Regions from separate parts of the Homo sapiens genome. Here regions 2, 3 and 4 are each linked to region 1. Evidence: promoter capture Hi-C in human tissues and cell types (Jung and others, 2019). All regions are on one chromosome and are shown on one strand. The core of a region is centred on a gene start or on the middle of the fragment in contact, and the rest is flanking DNA. Distances in the headings are between cores, read along the strand shown.

Evidence for each region. Contacts are between HindIII fragments. The study calls those that stand out against the background at their distance.
Region 2: the fragment with the promoter of KIAA1958 here is called in contact with the fragment with the promoter of GNG10 in region 1 in 1 of the 25 tissues and cell types used here (stomach).
Region 3: a contact is called between a fragment that was not itself captured here and the fragment with the promoter of GNG10 in region 1, in 1 of the 25 tissues and cell types used here (H1 embryonic stem cells).
Region 4: a contact is called between a fragment that was not itself captured here and the fragment with the promoter of GNG10 in region 1, in 1 of the 25 tissues and cell types used here (lymphoblastoid cells).

What each region holds. Positions count from the first base shown.
Region 1 is chr9:111,659,997-111,663,649 of GRCh38, reverse strand. It overlaps GNG10 (G protein subunit gamma 10), which reads right to left and starts at 2,045. Exons shown (of 3, transcript NM_001017998.4): 1 at 1,935-2,045. The coding sequence starts at 2,015. The region is part of intron 1 of DNAJC25-GNG10 (DNAJC25-GNG10 readthrough); the gene reads right to left. RefSeq lists enhancers at 985-1,034, 1,235-1,334, 2,405-2,464 and silencers at 1,625-1,744, 1,775-2,224. The HindIII fragment of the contact is 18,619 bases long and covers 1-3,653 here.
Region 2 is chr9:112,484,424-112,488,076 of GRCh38, reverse strand. It overlaps KIAA1958, which reads right to left and starts at 1,250. Exons shown (of 4, transcript NM_133465.4): 1 at 959-1,250. It overlaps HSDL2-AS1 (HSDL2 antisense RNA 1), which reads left to right and starts at 433. Exons shown (of 5, transcript NR_171779.1): 1 at 433-1,098; 2 at 1,536-1,687. RefSeq lists silencers at 652-1,141, 1,222-1,281 and an enhancer at 1,712-1,771. The HindIII fragment of the contact is 14,239 bases long and covers 1-3,653 here.
Region 3 is chr9:112,413,506-112,417,158 of GRCh38, reverse strand. It overlaps HSDL2 (hydroxysteroid dehydrogenase like 2), which reads right to left. Exons shown (of 11, transcript NM_032303.5): 5 at 215-318. Among named protein-coding and RNA genes, the nearest start is that of HSDL2, 35 kb to the right of the region's middle. The HindIII fragment of the contact is 5,910 bases long and covers 1-3,653 here.
Region 4 is chr9:112,366,206-112,369,858 of GRCh38, reverse strand. It overlaps a transcript of PTBP3 not described here. Among named protein-coding and RNA genes, the nearest start is that of HSDL2, 12 kb to the left of the region's middle. The HindIII fragment of the contact is 8,217 bases long and covers 1-3,653 here.

The DNA.
Region 1 (3,653 bases), core at 796-3,295:
CAGTTACAACACCTGTAACTGCTCCACTTCTGAAATTTTACACTCCAGTATCCTACTCTCTGATCACAATCTCTCCTTCCCATCCAGGGTGCTGCCTCCTTTATTCTTCCTTTATTCTGCTCTGACCTCACCGAGATCACCAGGCATCACCTCCTCCCCTTCTGTCTCACCTATCACCAGGAGGCTGGCTGCATTCCTTCTCTATCCATCTAGGCTCAGCCTCTTTCTGGCCAGACCTTCACACGCCTTGCCCTCCGGCCCCACCTCCACCTTTCTGGCATACCTCCCCTGCTAACTTACTCCTCTTTCAACTACCGTTCACCTTCAGCACTCACATTCCAGGATGGTAAAGATTGCTGCAGGAAAAAAAAAAAATCACAAATATGACCAGCAGTCTCCCTTGTCACAGCAGCTGGGTCTTCAGTCACAGCGCATCTGCGTGCCTGCTCAGGGGCCACTCCCTTAGTCCCCTTTCCTCTGCCTTAGAAGAAAACCTGGCCTCCTATTTCACAAAGAAAAGTGTCACCATACAAGTTTAGCCCATATCTAGAAACTTATCTTTACACACACCCTTACCTTCTTTCTTCCTGTCTCAGAAGCTGTGCCACCAATCCCCCACCCCCCCGTAGCCCTGTCTCCTCTACCAGCAATTGGCTTCCATTTGTTTCTTCCCTGGAACCTAAAAATATAATTTGTTACTTCCTCTCAACCCTAAAACATGGCTTTTCATTTCCTAAGTTAAAAAAACACGTTATTTCCTCTTTAAAACTAGGTTTCTTTAAAAAGAAAAAACGTCTGCCTACCCTATGACAGTCCAGATTCTGCTTTTACTAACACATAAGCCACCAGACCTCTGCATTCCACAGCCCTCTCTCCCTTTACCCTGTTTATTATCTTCACTCCACTTAGTACATGAAGCGATGCTATGTATCCGTTAAGTTGCTGTTTACCTTCCCCTCCAGAACCACCCTATTCCCTGTAGCAGTGCCAGGCACACAGCAAAGGAGAAACTGAGGCACAGGGACTATCCTGGTTGTGTTCCTTCTTACAGATCTTCTGCAAATAATGCTGCACTCGTAGCTAAACACAGCTCTACAACAGACGCCTTTTAGCCAACTGACTAAACGCTGGACATGTTGACTGAGCCCCCAGTTTTTGGAAATCCCTACTTCCTTGCTCGGAAACCTTGCTGTCTCTTATTTCCTCTTCTCTAGGCCTTGCTCGGAAACCTTGCTGTCTCTTATTTCCTCTTCTCTCGGCCACCGGCCATCGGTGTGGCTGGTCCCCGGGTCCCAGGCTCTGAGCTCTGCTCTTCATAGAAGAGGCTTTTTCGCCCCAATGCACTTGAATGACCTCTTTCAGCCCTGGGCGCTGAGCTTCAGGCCATGAGGACAAATACCTCCCGGATGACTCCCCGGAGTCCCCAGGTCCGCAGCCGAACTCATCATTTCCCCAAACCTGTTCCCCCTCCTCTCTACCTCGGCGGGTGGCAGCGCCGTCCACCCTGTCACGACGACAGAAACCCGAGCATCCTGGCTCTCCTCCCTCTCGCTCTCATCCTACCAATCCATCACCAATTCGCCGCCCTGCGGTGGCCTCCCCAGCCCTGGGTCCACCCTCCCGGCCCGCGCGTCGCCGGCATCCCTTGCGCCCTCCGAGGAACTGACCACGGCCGCCTTCTGGAGTGGGCGCACCCCCAGGGACCGGGACCGACCACGACCGCGGGGCCCCCCAGGCGCGGCTTCCTCCCGTCAGGCCCGGGCCCCCGGCTTGCCCCGCGCCCTCCCTCACCGCGGACCCCACCGCCCCCGCGCCCCGCCGAGGCCTCGCCGCCGCCACCGAGTCCCCCGCTGGCGCCCGGTCCGGGCCGCCGGCCTCCTCTTCTCACGCCCCGCGGGCGGAAGGACCGGAGCGTGGGTACCCGGGGCCCGCACCTTGATCCTCTCCACGCCAGCCTCCAACTTGAGCTGCTCTACCAAGCGCTGCAGGGCGCTCGCGCTAGCCCCGGAGGACATGGCGGCGGCGCTGGGCTCCTAGGGGCTGCTGGGCCCGGCCGGGCGGGGAGGAGCCGCCAGCCCCGAGCGCGGGTGCCGCCCCGGGGCGGGGAAGCAGCTGCGCCCGCCCCGCCGCCCCAGCCCACCCGGCGCGGAGCCGCTTGCCAGAGACAGCGGGGACCCCAGCGAGCTGGCAGTGCTCTCCGCTCCTCAGCGCCTGAAACCTGGGTGGCACCTGCAGCTGGGCCTGGAACCGAGGCGGGGACCCGCAGAGCGCGGCGTCCTCCAGCGAAGCTGGCGCCCCTAGGATGAGCAGGAATCGCGAGGGCGTGGGACGCGAGGATGGAGTGGGCGGCAGCAAACACGCACCCCTGAGAAATGAGAACTGGAGCCAAGGTGTGACATGAGTTGGAGAGATAAGGGGCCTTGCCAGACAGTATCACCGGGGAACCAAGGAGAGTTCATAGGATTTTCATGAGGCAGCAACAGGTTTCTAAATGACCCTGTTACTGTTTCACGGAGATCCTACCAGTTGATTTGGTGGAGTATGGTAAATTGGATAAAATCCCAGACCCTGACATCTTTGTGAAACATACAGAATAAAATTAAATTCAGCGTTTCTCACTCTCATCTCACCATTTAACTGTCATCATTGTTTCTATTCTGCTGCTTTTTTTTTTTTTTTTTTTTTTTTTGAGACAGGGTCTTGCTCTGTCACCCGGGGTGGAGTGCAGTGGCGTGATCACAGCTCCTTGTAGCCTCCACCTCGTGGGCTCAGGTGATCCTCCTGCCTCAGCCTCCTGAGTAGCTGGGACTACAGACACACACCACCACGCCCGGCTAATTTTTGTATTTTTAGTAGAGACGGGGTTTCACGATGTTGGCCAGGCTGGTGTTGAACTCCTGGGCTCAGGTGATCCTCCCACCTCAGCCTCCCAAAGTGCTGGCATTATAGGCCTACTGCATTTTTTAATAAGTGTTTTACAAAACTGGGATCGTTACTATATTTAAAATTTTTGTGTTGCTTTTTTCCATGTATCATTAATACGTCATTATTCTTGTACACCATTGTATTTGTCAGAACTCACTTAAACTGAATATTGCAAAAGGTAATATATTGGCTTGTGTAACTGAAAAGTCCAGGGACTTTAAACTAGTGAATTCAATTACCCAAATAATAATTTTGGGGCTCTCATCCTCCTTGTTTTGATTCTGCTTTTCCTGAGATTAGCCTCATTTTCCTTGGTGGTAGATGGACTTCTCTAGTGGTATGAAGGAAGGCACCACACTTTCACTGTCCCCATCTAGCAAACCCAGGAAAAATAGTACCTCTTTTCTTTCTAATCGTTCCAGCAAAAATCCCCATAATGAACCTCACTGGCTGGTATTAAGTCATGGGCCCACCCCTGGCCCAATTACTCTTTGAAGGCAAGGATGTGTGGCATTGACGTGCTCAGATTAGCTGTGCCTGGGCCAAAGGGAGACTTGCACATTTGAAAGCCCTCTCTAGTGGCCAATTTCCTCACCACAAAGAAATTAATATATATCTTAGTAAAGAGATGAAAGTACATGTTGGGAACATTCAACAATCAATTCTGAGACTGATGAATAGGACAAAATAGAATGATTTCATATTTAAAAGATATGGCAAAGAACTCA
Region 2 (3,653 bases), core at 1-2,500, 830 kb before region 1:
ACCTGACTGGCTTGTTAGCTGTTTATTTCGTCGGGAGAGGATTCCGTCTTGCGAATCCTAACGAGTTCGGGAAAAAACAAAACTTTACTCCTAAACTTCAAAACACACACACACACACACACACACACACGCACACACACTAAATACATATAATTGTAAAAATCACAGCCACGTTCATTTTTTTTAAAGTCCCAATCTAAAACCTTAAAGAAAAAAAAAGACTTGAAGGAACCAAAAACATTCTTTGATTTTGGTTTGACGTTGTTCAGTCCAACCTCCTCCTACCCAGGGGAATACATTTCTCGATATATTTGATAACAAACACAAATCACTGTGCGCAGCCTCAGATGGGGGTGGGGGGGCGGAAGAGCCTTTTGGAGAAAGCCCTCCTCCGTTAGAAACAATAAATAAGGGAGCGAAGCCATGCACGTTCCTTCACACACGCCCCAAACGCACCTCGGCGAGCCACCCGAGGAGGAAAACTAGTGGGGCAGAGCCCTGAACCACCTCTCTTTCTCCATAAGCATCTCAAGACTTGGAAACTAAGAGGACAGACCTTTTCCTCCTCCTTCCCGCCCTCCTTCCCACCTCCGACAGACCCAAGAGCAGGAGCGGGGGCGCCAGCCCCACGCACTGCGCCTGCAGCCGCCGCTGAGACCCGAGCTGCCGGGCGGCGGGGCGGCCCGGGGCAGGCGGACCGGAGCCGCCACCGGGGGTCTCTGCGCCTCGCACCCCCAAGCCCGGCGCTGCCGACGAGCGGCCGCCCGGGTCCCTGCCCTCGCTCCGGCCTCGCTCCCCCGAGAGGAGACAAAAGGAAGGTTCAGCCGGGTCACCGCGCGGCCGCTGACGGGGAAGCAGAGTCGACCCCGGCGCGGCCGCCCCCCACACAAAGGGGCTCCCCGCCTGGGTCGCGGCGTCGGCGCACTCGTCCCCGCCCCGCGCGCGGGCTCTCACCCACCTGCAGGTGTCTGTGCGTCTGTCCATAGGAACGCGGTCGGCGCGGGGGGGCCTGCGAGAGCCGGGCAGCCCGGGCTGGACGGGACGGGCCGAAGGGGCGCGAGGGCGGGAGGAGAGCGGCCAGAGGGCCGGGCACCAAAGGTAAGTGGAGCGGGGAAGGCGCCCGGCGGGCGGCGGACCGAGGAGCGGGGCGGGGGGCGGGGGCGCCAGCCTGGCTCGGCCGACCGCCGCGCGCCGCTCCGTGCGCCCCGAGCTCCGCGCGCCCGGCTCGGAGCGCGGCGGGCGGGCAGGGGGCGGGGCGCGGGCGGGCCGGGGCGGGGCCGGCGAGCGGGGCGGGGGCTCGGACCCCGGGCTCCAGCCGGCACCGGAAACGCGCCGTGGTCGGCGAGACCCACAGGAAGTGTGTAACGACACCTCCTACGGCACGCACCGAGCTCGCAGTCGTTGCTGCCCCGAGGAGGTGTAGATCGAGCCTCCTGCCGCACACACGTTCGCACGCGGCGGCCGGCGCGCTGGACCGAGAGGTTGGAGCAATCCATCCTCCGCGCGCACGAGCTCAGTCCCTACTGCCCCGACAGGTGTGGAACCCGCCGTCCCCGCTATGGTCCGAGGAAGTGTACAGCACTGCTCCCTACTACACGTCCTGGGCCCGCGGTCCCCGATGCCCCCCGGAGCTCTGTGCACCTCCACTGAAACGCAAGGAGCAGACAGAACCTACACCATCCGTGAGGTGTGTGATTTCCCTTATAACGCATTGAGTAGAGTTACCTCTCCGCCCAGGGATGTGCATTAACACTTTCTACCGAGATACTACGTACAGCCCATAGTCACCGCTGCCCCGTGAAGGTGCCCAACAACCACCTGTAACACACACACCCCTATCCCATCGAGGGAGCGGGGATGCTTAATGATACCTAAAATACACTAAAACTAGGTCCTCCAGCAAACCAGAGACACAAGAACACCACCTACACGACTCAGCACAGCAAAGATGAAGCTGGACTTGCTAGGTGCTACCAGGCTTGGTCCACCTTTATTTTACCTAACACTTTCGTAGTACTTGCTGTGTGCCCACAGTTTGCACTGAGTACTTAGCGAATATTAATTTATTTAATCCTAAGAACTCTACATAGTGGGTGCTATTAACATTGCCATTTTATGATAAGGAAACTGAGGCACAGAGAAATTAAGAAATTTTTTCAACATCACATAGATAGTAGCTAGAGGAGCCTGGATTCATTCCGGACAGTCTGGCTTCAGAGTCTGCTCTTAACTCCCTTTCTATTTACAGCACTGACCATCTCCAAAACAGTAATCATGGTAATAAATAACATTTACACCATATCTGTCAGGCCTTACGTAGTGCCCACATCTTGGCCTCACCTCATCTGTGACAGGCATACCCCAGTCACTTGTACCCTTGGAGTAGGTAAGGGAAGAGAAGAATATTTTTGAGGGAGAGAAAGAAGCTAACTTCTTAGCAAAGGAGAAAATATCCAGGGTCGTCCAGAATCCAAGCAGGTAACTTCATTACCACATCAAGCATGTTCTCTTTTAGGTAGCTTCTGCCAACCCCTCTCCATCTCTAGAGCTGATTCCGGTTGATGTTCTTAACACCTTCCTCTATCAACACTCTTCCAGGTCTAGGCTGAAATTTAAAATCTGTGTAAATGTTGACACAATAATGTTTGTACAAACAAAAAAGACCAAAAATGAAAACCCCCTAGTTAATTGCTGCATATTCTAAAGATGGGATCTTGTGGAGAAATTGGAACTCTTATGCAATGCTGATAGGAATGTAGATGGTACCACCACTATGCAAAACAGTGGGGAAGTTCCTCAAAAAACTAAAACTAGAGCTACCATATGATCCAGCAATCCCACTTCTGGGTAAATATCCAAAAGAATTGAAAGCAGGATATCGAAGAGATATTTGCACATTCATGTTCATTGCAGCACTATTCACAATAGCCAAGAGGTTGAAGCAGCCCAAATGTTCATCAACAGATGAAGAGATGAATGAAAATGTGATATATACATATAATGGAATATTATTCAGCCTTAAAAAGGAAGGAAATCTTATCACAGGCTACAACATAGATGAACCTTGAGGATGTTGTGCCAAGTGCAATAAACCAGTCACAAAAGGACAAATACTGTTATGATTTGACCTATATGAACTATGTAGAGGTATGTAAACTGTGGGATTATGTCAAACTTGTGGAAACAAGACGGTAGAATAGTGGTTGCTAGAGGGTAGAGGGAGGGGAAAATGGTGATATAATGTTTACTGGGTACAGAGTTTCAATTTTGCAAGATGAAAAATTTCTAGAGATGTTACACAATAATGTAAATATAACACCACCGAACTGTACACTTAAAAGTAGTTACAAAGGTAAATTTTAAATTGTTTTTGCCACAATCAACTTCAAAACAAATCTAATTTTATTTGTTTAAAGGATATTTCACTACAATGAATTTTTTTAATGATGCAGGCATCCAACCATGATGAGGTACCTTGTTGAACAAACTAACTCTGCCACTGAGAACGATGAAAGCTGTTTAAAAAAATAAATAAGTCTGTTTAAAACAATTGGAGAGCAACCCTGTCATCCAAGGCTTGAGAGTCCACGAGCCCCCCAGGAAGAAGAGAAATACTCTGAAGTGAGTCCTGCATTCTCAGCCGCTTTTCCTTC
Region 3 (3,653 bases), core at 486-2,985, 750 kb before region 1:
GCTGTGCATTTTATTGAATGTCAATTATGCCTCAATTTTTTAAATTACAGATAAAAGATGAAGAATCTACTTTCCAAATGCCACTTAATGACTTGGCATAGAAAATTCAATGATGAATGTTATGTGCAGATTGTGATTACATCAGACATACACAGATTTAATTCAAAACAAATTAAGCACAAACCATCCCCTCACCCTACCACCTACCACCTACCACAGTGCTGTTTGAACCAAACTGGATTTAGGTTCAGTGGTGGACTGATATTGAGGATATGAGCAACTTTGCTCTTTTTCAAATAAGGAATACATGCTTTAGATCTGAAAGCAAAAGAAAATACAAGCCAAATTTAATAGCTTTCTAACAATTTCTCCACTTTTTTTTTTAAGAGAGGGGGCCTTGCTCTGTTGCCCAGGCTGGAGTGCATGACTCGATCACAGTTCACTAAAGCCTTGAGCTCCTGGGCTCCTGGGCTCAAGCAATCCTCCCACCTCAGTTTTCCGAGTAGCTGGAACTACAGGTGTGCAGCACCACCATGCCCAGCTAATTTCTGTACTTTTTTTTTTTTTTTTAGAGACAGGGTCTAGCTTTGTTGCCCAGGCTGGTCTTGAACCCCTTGGACTCAAGCACTCCTCCTACCTCAGACTCCCGAAGTGCCAGGATTATAGGTTTACAGGTGTGAACCACTGCGACCAGCCAACTTCTTTTTTTTTGTTTGTTTTTTTTTTTAATTTTAAGACAGGGTCTCTCTGTTGCCAGGCTGGAGTGCAGTGGCATGATCACATCTCATTGTAGCCTCTGCCTCCCCAGCTCAAGTGGTCCTCTCACCTCAGCCTCCTGAGTAGCTGGGACTACAGGCATGTGCCAGCATGCCCAGCTACCTGGATAGTTTTTGTAATTTTTTTTTTCTTTTTTTAGAAACAGGGTCTTGCTATGTGGCGCAGGCGTGTCTCAAACTCCTGGACTCAAGCGATCTACCCGCCTCAGCCTCCCAAAGTACTAGGATTACAAGTGTGAGCCATCATGCCGGGCCAATCCACTTTTTTTTTTTTTTTGAGACGGAGTCTGGCTCTGTTGCCCAGGCTGGAGTGAAGTGGCACAATCGCTCACTGCAAGCTCCGCCTCCCGGGTTCATGCCATTCTCCTGCTTCAGTCTCCTGAGTAGCTGGGACTACAAGGCGCCCGCCACCACGTCCGGCTAATGTTTTGTATTTTTAGTAGAGACGGGGTTTCACCGTGTTAGCCAGGATGGTCTCGACTCCTGACCTCGTGATCCACCCACGCTCCGCCAAGATACATTTTAAACTACTCCTACAGAGTAACTGAACTTGCTCAGAAATCTGTAGGGAACTGTTTGTTTGTTTTGTTCATAGGGTACTTTTGTTTGCTTTCTAGAATTAAGACAGAAAAAGCAACTAATTTTCATCCTTTGAAATTCTGCTTAATGGCCTGGCAACATGATCTGCTTGATGGAAAAAAACAAATCCTTGATATACTAGCCTTAAGCCCAACTGAGGTTATCCGCAACCACAACCATCCCAAATTCTGCCTCCCTAACACACATATGTAATTTTCAGAGATAGTTAATATACTTGTCGGTCAGCACAGTGGTAAATAACATGAGTGTTCAAGTCAGACAGACCAGGGTTCAAATTCTGCTTCTGCCCCTTCATTGTGTGACCCTGGGAAAATTGTATAGCATTCTAATGCTCAGTTCTCTCCTCTGCAAATGTTGGTAAAAGTCACTACCTTCTATGATTGACCAAGAGATTAAAATTAGATGATATATATGAGATACTTAGGACAATGTATATACTAAACATGAAATAAACAATCGCTGTTGTTAGTATTATGTATGCTGATTTATTTCATCTTAATAGGCATAGTACTTCTACTACATTGGAACTGTAATTTAGTAATATAACTCTCATTACATTCCCAAATTTAATTTTCACCAATATAAAATATGCCTTTGGGTGCAATACATAGCTTTATTTTTAAAAAGTCACTCATTAAGGTAGGTAATTTATTTAAGATTCAGATTCAATATTTCTAAAATGTTAATTTTTACATAATGTCAGCAGCTAAATAATATATTATAGCTTAATTTATAGCTTTATTTTAGCTACAAATTTAGCTTTCGTTTACATTCAATGACTTCTAGGACTTCTAGGACTCTGAACTTGTCCATTCTTTTTTTTTTCTTTACCCTGAACCAGGAGCTGTGAATGAACTAGTTCATTCTTCTTTCAAGTCAGTTTTTTAATTACCAAATGTACAATACTGGTGTTAAAAACAGCAACATCTTACCAAGCTTACCAAATATAATCAATACCACTAGAGGGGTTTTGGTAGATACTGTTTTCATTTCCAAAGGTGCTTCACTTTTATGGAGGTGAGGTGAGGTGGGGCAAACAATATTACAGCTGAGTTTCATTAAAACAGTGAAACTGCAACTCGAAGCATCAAGAAGAAACAAACTAAATCTACTCCAGTAAATAAGACCATATTTTACACTCAAAGGAAAGAGCTCATTTCATTTACATTCTAAACATGGGCTTTCCTTTGATCTATGGGACAAGACCTTTCCATCTGCACTTTGCTGGCCTGGACCTCAACATTGCTAATCCTACATCAGGTGCATCTGTCACAGTAGCATGCCCTCTTATATATTATATTGAAAACTCTTAGCACCACACTTAGATACTGATACCTTCAGCCGAATAAAATAGTTACGTTTACTGAAAACCTAACTATGTGCCAGACTCTGTTTTTATTACCTTTCATGAATTATTTTACTTACTTGGGGTTTCAAACTCAAAGACCTGTAAGGCATTTGAGTAAATGAATAAAGTGAGTTGGTGTAAAAACTAGAGGTTCCTCTTCAAAGACTTTCCTCCCTGTCTAATTAGGAATAAATAGTAACTTCTCTTAGAAGCAAAATGTATTCAAAGACCCGTACTAACATTCTTAAATATCTGCTAGCCATGATAAAGAAATCAATGTACTTTAAGTTCTTAGCTCCCACAATTTAGCCTAAATATTTGCCCTGGCATGCATATACTGGTCCAAGCAAGCATTAGGTCATAGCCTGTTCCTCTTCCTTATTTGAAGGTGTTTTTACCGTTCTCAGCATTCCACAAGTTACCTCCTCCTTCCTTTGTTCTCCTCTGCCTTTGCCTCTTTTTAAAAAAAGTTCTAAGTTGCTAGCCAACCGGGACAAATACAGAACGTCAGGTCCCGTTCCAGCCAATGGAAACCGGACACAGCAGTAGGGTGGACGCGTCAGGTTATAAATGACCCTGTCTGCTTTGATCGGTGTACTCTTGTGGCAAAACTGCTGGCAAGTATACCCTTTCTGCAGAAAGTATAAAAACGGCCTTGCTGAGTAAATTAAATTTATGTTCAAGTGCTATTTCTTTATGGCACCAGGGAACAAGCATTTCAAACAGCTGGGAATAAGAAAAATCAACTGTTCAGAGATACAACTGAACCTTACTACTAAGCTTCTAAAAGCATTTAACATGATACAAACAATGTAATACTGGAGAGTATATAATAAATTAAATTGAAAAATACAAATTAAAAAAGAAATGTGTTCTGTGAGTTACCAGGGAAGTAAAAATAAAATAAAATAGAAATATTTCTTTTCTTT
Region 4 (3,653 bases), core at 740-3,239, 710 kb before region 1:
CTCCCATAATACCATAACACGTGGGTATTATGGGAGCTACAATTTGAGATGAGATTTGGGTGGGGACACAGCCAAACCATATCATTCTGTCCCTGGCCTCTCCCAAATCTCCTGTCCTCGCATTTCAAAACACAATCATGCCTTCCCAACAGTCCCCCAGAGTCTTAACTCATTTCAGCATTAATTCAAAAGTTCATAGTCTGAAGTCTCATCTGAGACAAGGCAAGCCTCTTCCACCTATGAACCTGTAAAATCAAAAGCAAGTTAGTTACTTCCTAGATACAATGTGAGTACAGGCATTCAGTAAATACACCCATTCCAAATGGGAGAAATTGGTCAAAATCAAGGAGCTAAAGGCCCCATGCAAGTCCAAAATCCAGAGGGATAGTCAAATCTTAAAGCTGCAAAATAATCTCCTTTGACTCCGTGTCTCACATCCAGGTCACAGTGATGCAAGTGGTGAGTTCTCATGGTCTTGGGCAGCTCCACCTCCATGGCTTTGCAGGGTACAGACGCCCTCCCAGCTGCTTTCACAGGCTGATGTTGAGTGTCTGTGACTTTTCCAGGTACATGGTGCAAGCTGTCAGTGGGTCTGTCATTCTAGGACCTGGAGGATGGTGGCCCTCTTCTCACAGCTCCACTAAGCAGTATCCCAGTGGGGACTCTGTGTAGGGGTTTCCACCCCAAATTTCCCTTCCACACTGCCCTAGCAGAGGTTCTCCATGAGGGCTCTGCCCCTGCAGCACACCTCTGCTTGGACATCCAGGTGTTTCTATACATCCTGTGAAATCTAGGTGGAGGTTCCCAATCCTTAATTCCTCACCTCTTTGCATCTGCAGGCACAAGACCTCGTGTAAGCCATCAAGGCTTGGGGATTGGACCCTCTGAAGCAATGGCCTGAGCTGTACATTGGCCCCTTTTAGCCATGGCTGGGGCACAGGGCACCAAGCAGCAAGGCCCTGGCCCTGGCCCATGAAACCATTTCTTTCTCCTAGGTCTCCCAGCTTGTGATGGGAGGGACTGCCGTGAAGACCTCTGACATGCCCTGGAGACATTTTCCCCCGTTGTCTTGATAATTGACATTTGGCTCCTCGTTACTTATGCAAATTGGCTAAGTTCACAGAGGTATTTCATCTCCCCTGGCCCAAAGCACTCCCACTAGTGCTGCATACACTCCAATCCATCCCTTTGGGAAAACATCAATTGTCCCCTTATGAAATTATAATGGGAAGGCCCATGTGTATGGGAATGAAAATAACCAATCCAACTTTTCTCAAGGGAGTTATATTGTAATATTGTGAGGGAATCATTTATCACCTTAAAAAAAAAAAGCCAAGATTTGATAAAGAATTCCTTTCACAGTGTGCTCCCTGAAGATAAGGTACCTGGGCTGGGCACGGTGGCTCACACCTGTAATCCCAGCACTTTGGGAGGCCAAGGTGGGTGGATAACTTGAGGTCAGGAGTTCGAGACCAACCTGGCCAACATGGCGAAACCCTGTCTCTACTAAAAATACAAAAATTAGCTGGGTGTGGTGGCGCACGCCTGTAATCCCAGCTACTCAGGAGGCCGAGGCACAAGAATCGCTTAAACCTGGGAGACAAAGGTTGCAGTGAGCCGAGGTTGCACCATTGTACTCCAGCCTGGGCAACAGAATGACGCTCTGTCTCAAAAAATAAAAAATACAAATACAAAAATTAGCCAGGCATGGTGGTGCATGCCTGTAGTCCCAGCTACTAGAGAGGCTGAGGTGGGAGGATTGCTTGAATCCAGGAGGCAGAGTTTGCAGTGAACCAAGATTGTGCCACTGCACTCCAGCCTGGGTGACAGAGTGAGACTTCGTCTCAACAACAACAATGAAAAGAACAAAAAGAAAAAAAAACTGAAGAAAGCCTACAGGAATCATGGGATATCATCAAACAAACTAATATATACATTATGGGAGTTCCAGAAGGAACAGTGAAAGAGAAGGGGGCAGAAAACTTATTTAAAGAAACAATGACAGAAAACTCCCCAAATTGGGAAGGGAAATGAACATCCAAATCCATGAAACCCAAAGAATCCCAAATAGATTAAATATAAAGAGATCTTCACTGAGGCCCATTATAATCAAATCATCAAAGTCAAAGATAGAAAGAATTTTGAAAGCAGCAAGAGAAAAGGAACTCATTACATACAAGGGAACCATCATAAGATTATCATTGCATTTCTCAGTAGAAACCTTGCAGGCCAGGAAACCATGGGAATATATTCAAAATGTTGAAAGATGAAAAAACTTGGCAACTAACAATACTATACCTGACTAAGAATACTATACCTGCCAACTAACAATACTATACTGTTCTGAAGGTCAGTAATGCTGTCCTTCAGAAATAAAGGAGATAAGAACCTAGCCAAAAAACAAAACAAAACAAAAAAACCCAAAACACAAACAAAAAAACCTGTGGGAGTTCATCACCACTACATCTGCTTTACAAGAAATGCTAAAGGGAGTTCTTTGTGTTGAAACAAAAGAATAATAGCTAACAAAATGAAAACATGCAAGTATAACATTCACTGTAAGGGTAAAAATAGTCAAATTCAGAATACTCTAATATAGTAATGGGGGTACATAAATCACTTTTAACTGTAGTCTAAAGTTTTTTTATGTATTAAAATATAGCTATAATAATTTGGTCATGGATAGACAACATACAAATTGTAACATCAATAACATAAAATGTGGGAAGAAAAGTTAAAATGCAAAGTTCTTGTGATGAAAGTTAAGCTAGTGTCAACTTAAAATAGACTGTGATAAGATATTTTATGTTAGGCTCATGGTAACCACAAAGAAAGCAGGGCAGTCAAATCTTAAAGCTCCAAAATGATCACCTTTGACTCCATGTCTCACATCCAGGCCATGCTGATGCAAGAAGTGAGTTCCCACAGTCCTGGGCAGCTCCACCCCTGTGGCTTTACAGGGTATAGCCCCCCTCCTGGCTGCTTTCACAGGCTAGGATTGAGTGTCTGCAGCTTTTCCAGGTGAATGGTGAAAGCTGTCAGTGGATCTATCATTCTGGGGCCTGGAAGACGGTAGCCCTCTTCTCACAGCTCCACTAGGTGGTGCCCCACTAAGGACTGTGTGGAGGCTCTGATTCTACCTTTCCCTTCTGCACTACCCTAGCAGCGGTTCTCCATGAGGGCCCACCCCTGCAGCAAACTTCTGCCTGGGCATCCAAGCATTTCTACGCATCTTTGGAAATCTAGGTGGAGGTTCAGAAACCCCAAATCTTCTGTGAACTTGCAGGCTCACCACCACGTGGAAGCTTCCGAGGATTGGGGTTTGAACCCTCGGAAGCCATGGCCCAAGCTCTATATTGGCCCCTTTCATCCATGGCTGGAGTGGCTGGAAAGCAGGGTGCCAAGTCCCTAGGCTGCACACAGCTTGGGAACACTGGACCCAGTTCATGAAACCATTTTTTCCTCCTGTGATGGGAGGGGCTGCCATGAAGACCTCTGACATGCCCTGGCAACATTTCCCCCATTCTCTTGGGAATTACCATTCAGCTCCTCATTACTTATGCAATTTTTTTTTTTTGAGACAGAGTCTTACTCTATTGCCCAGGCTGGAGTGCAATGGTGTGTCTTGGCTCACTGCAATCTCCGCTTCCTGG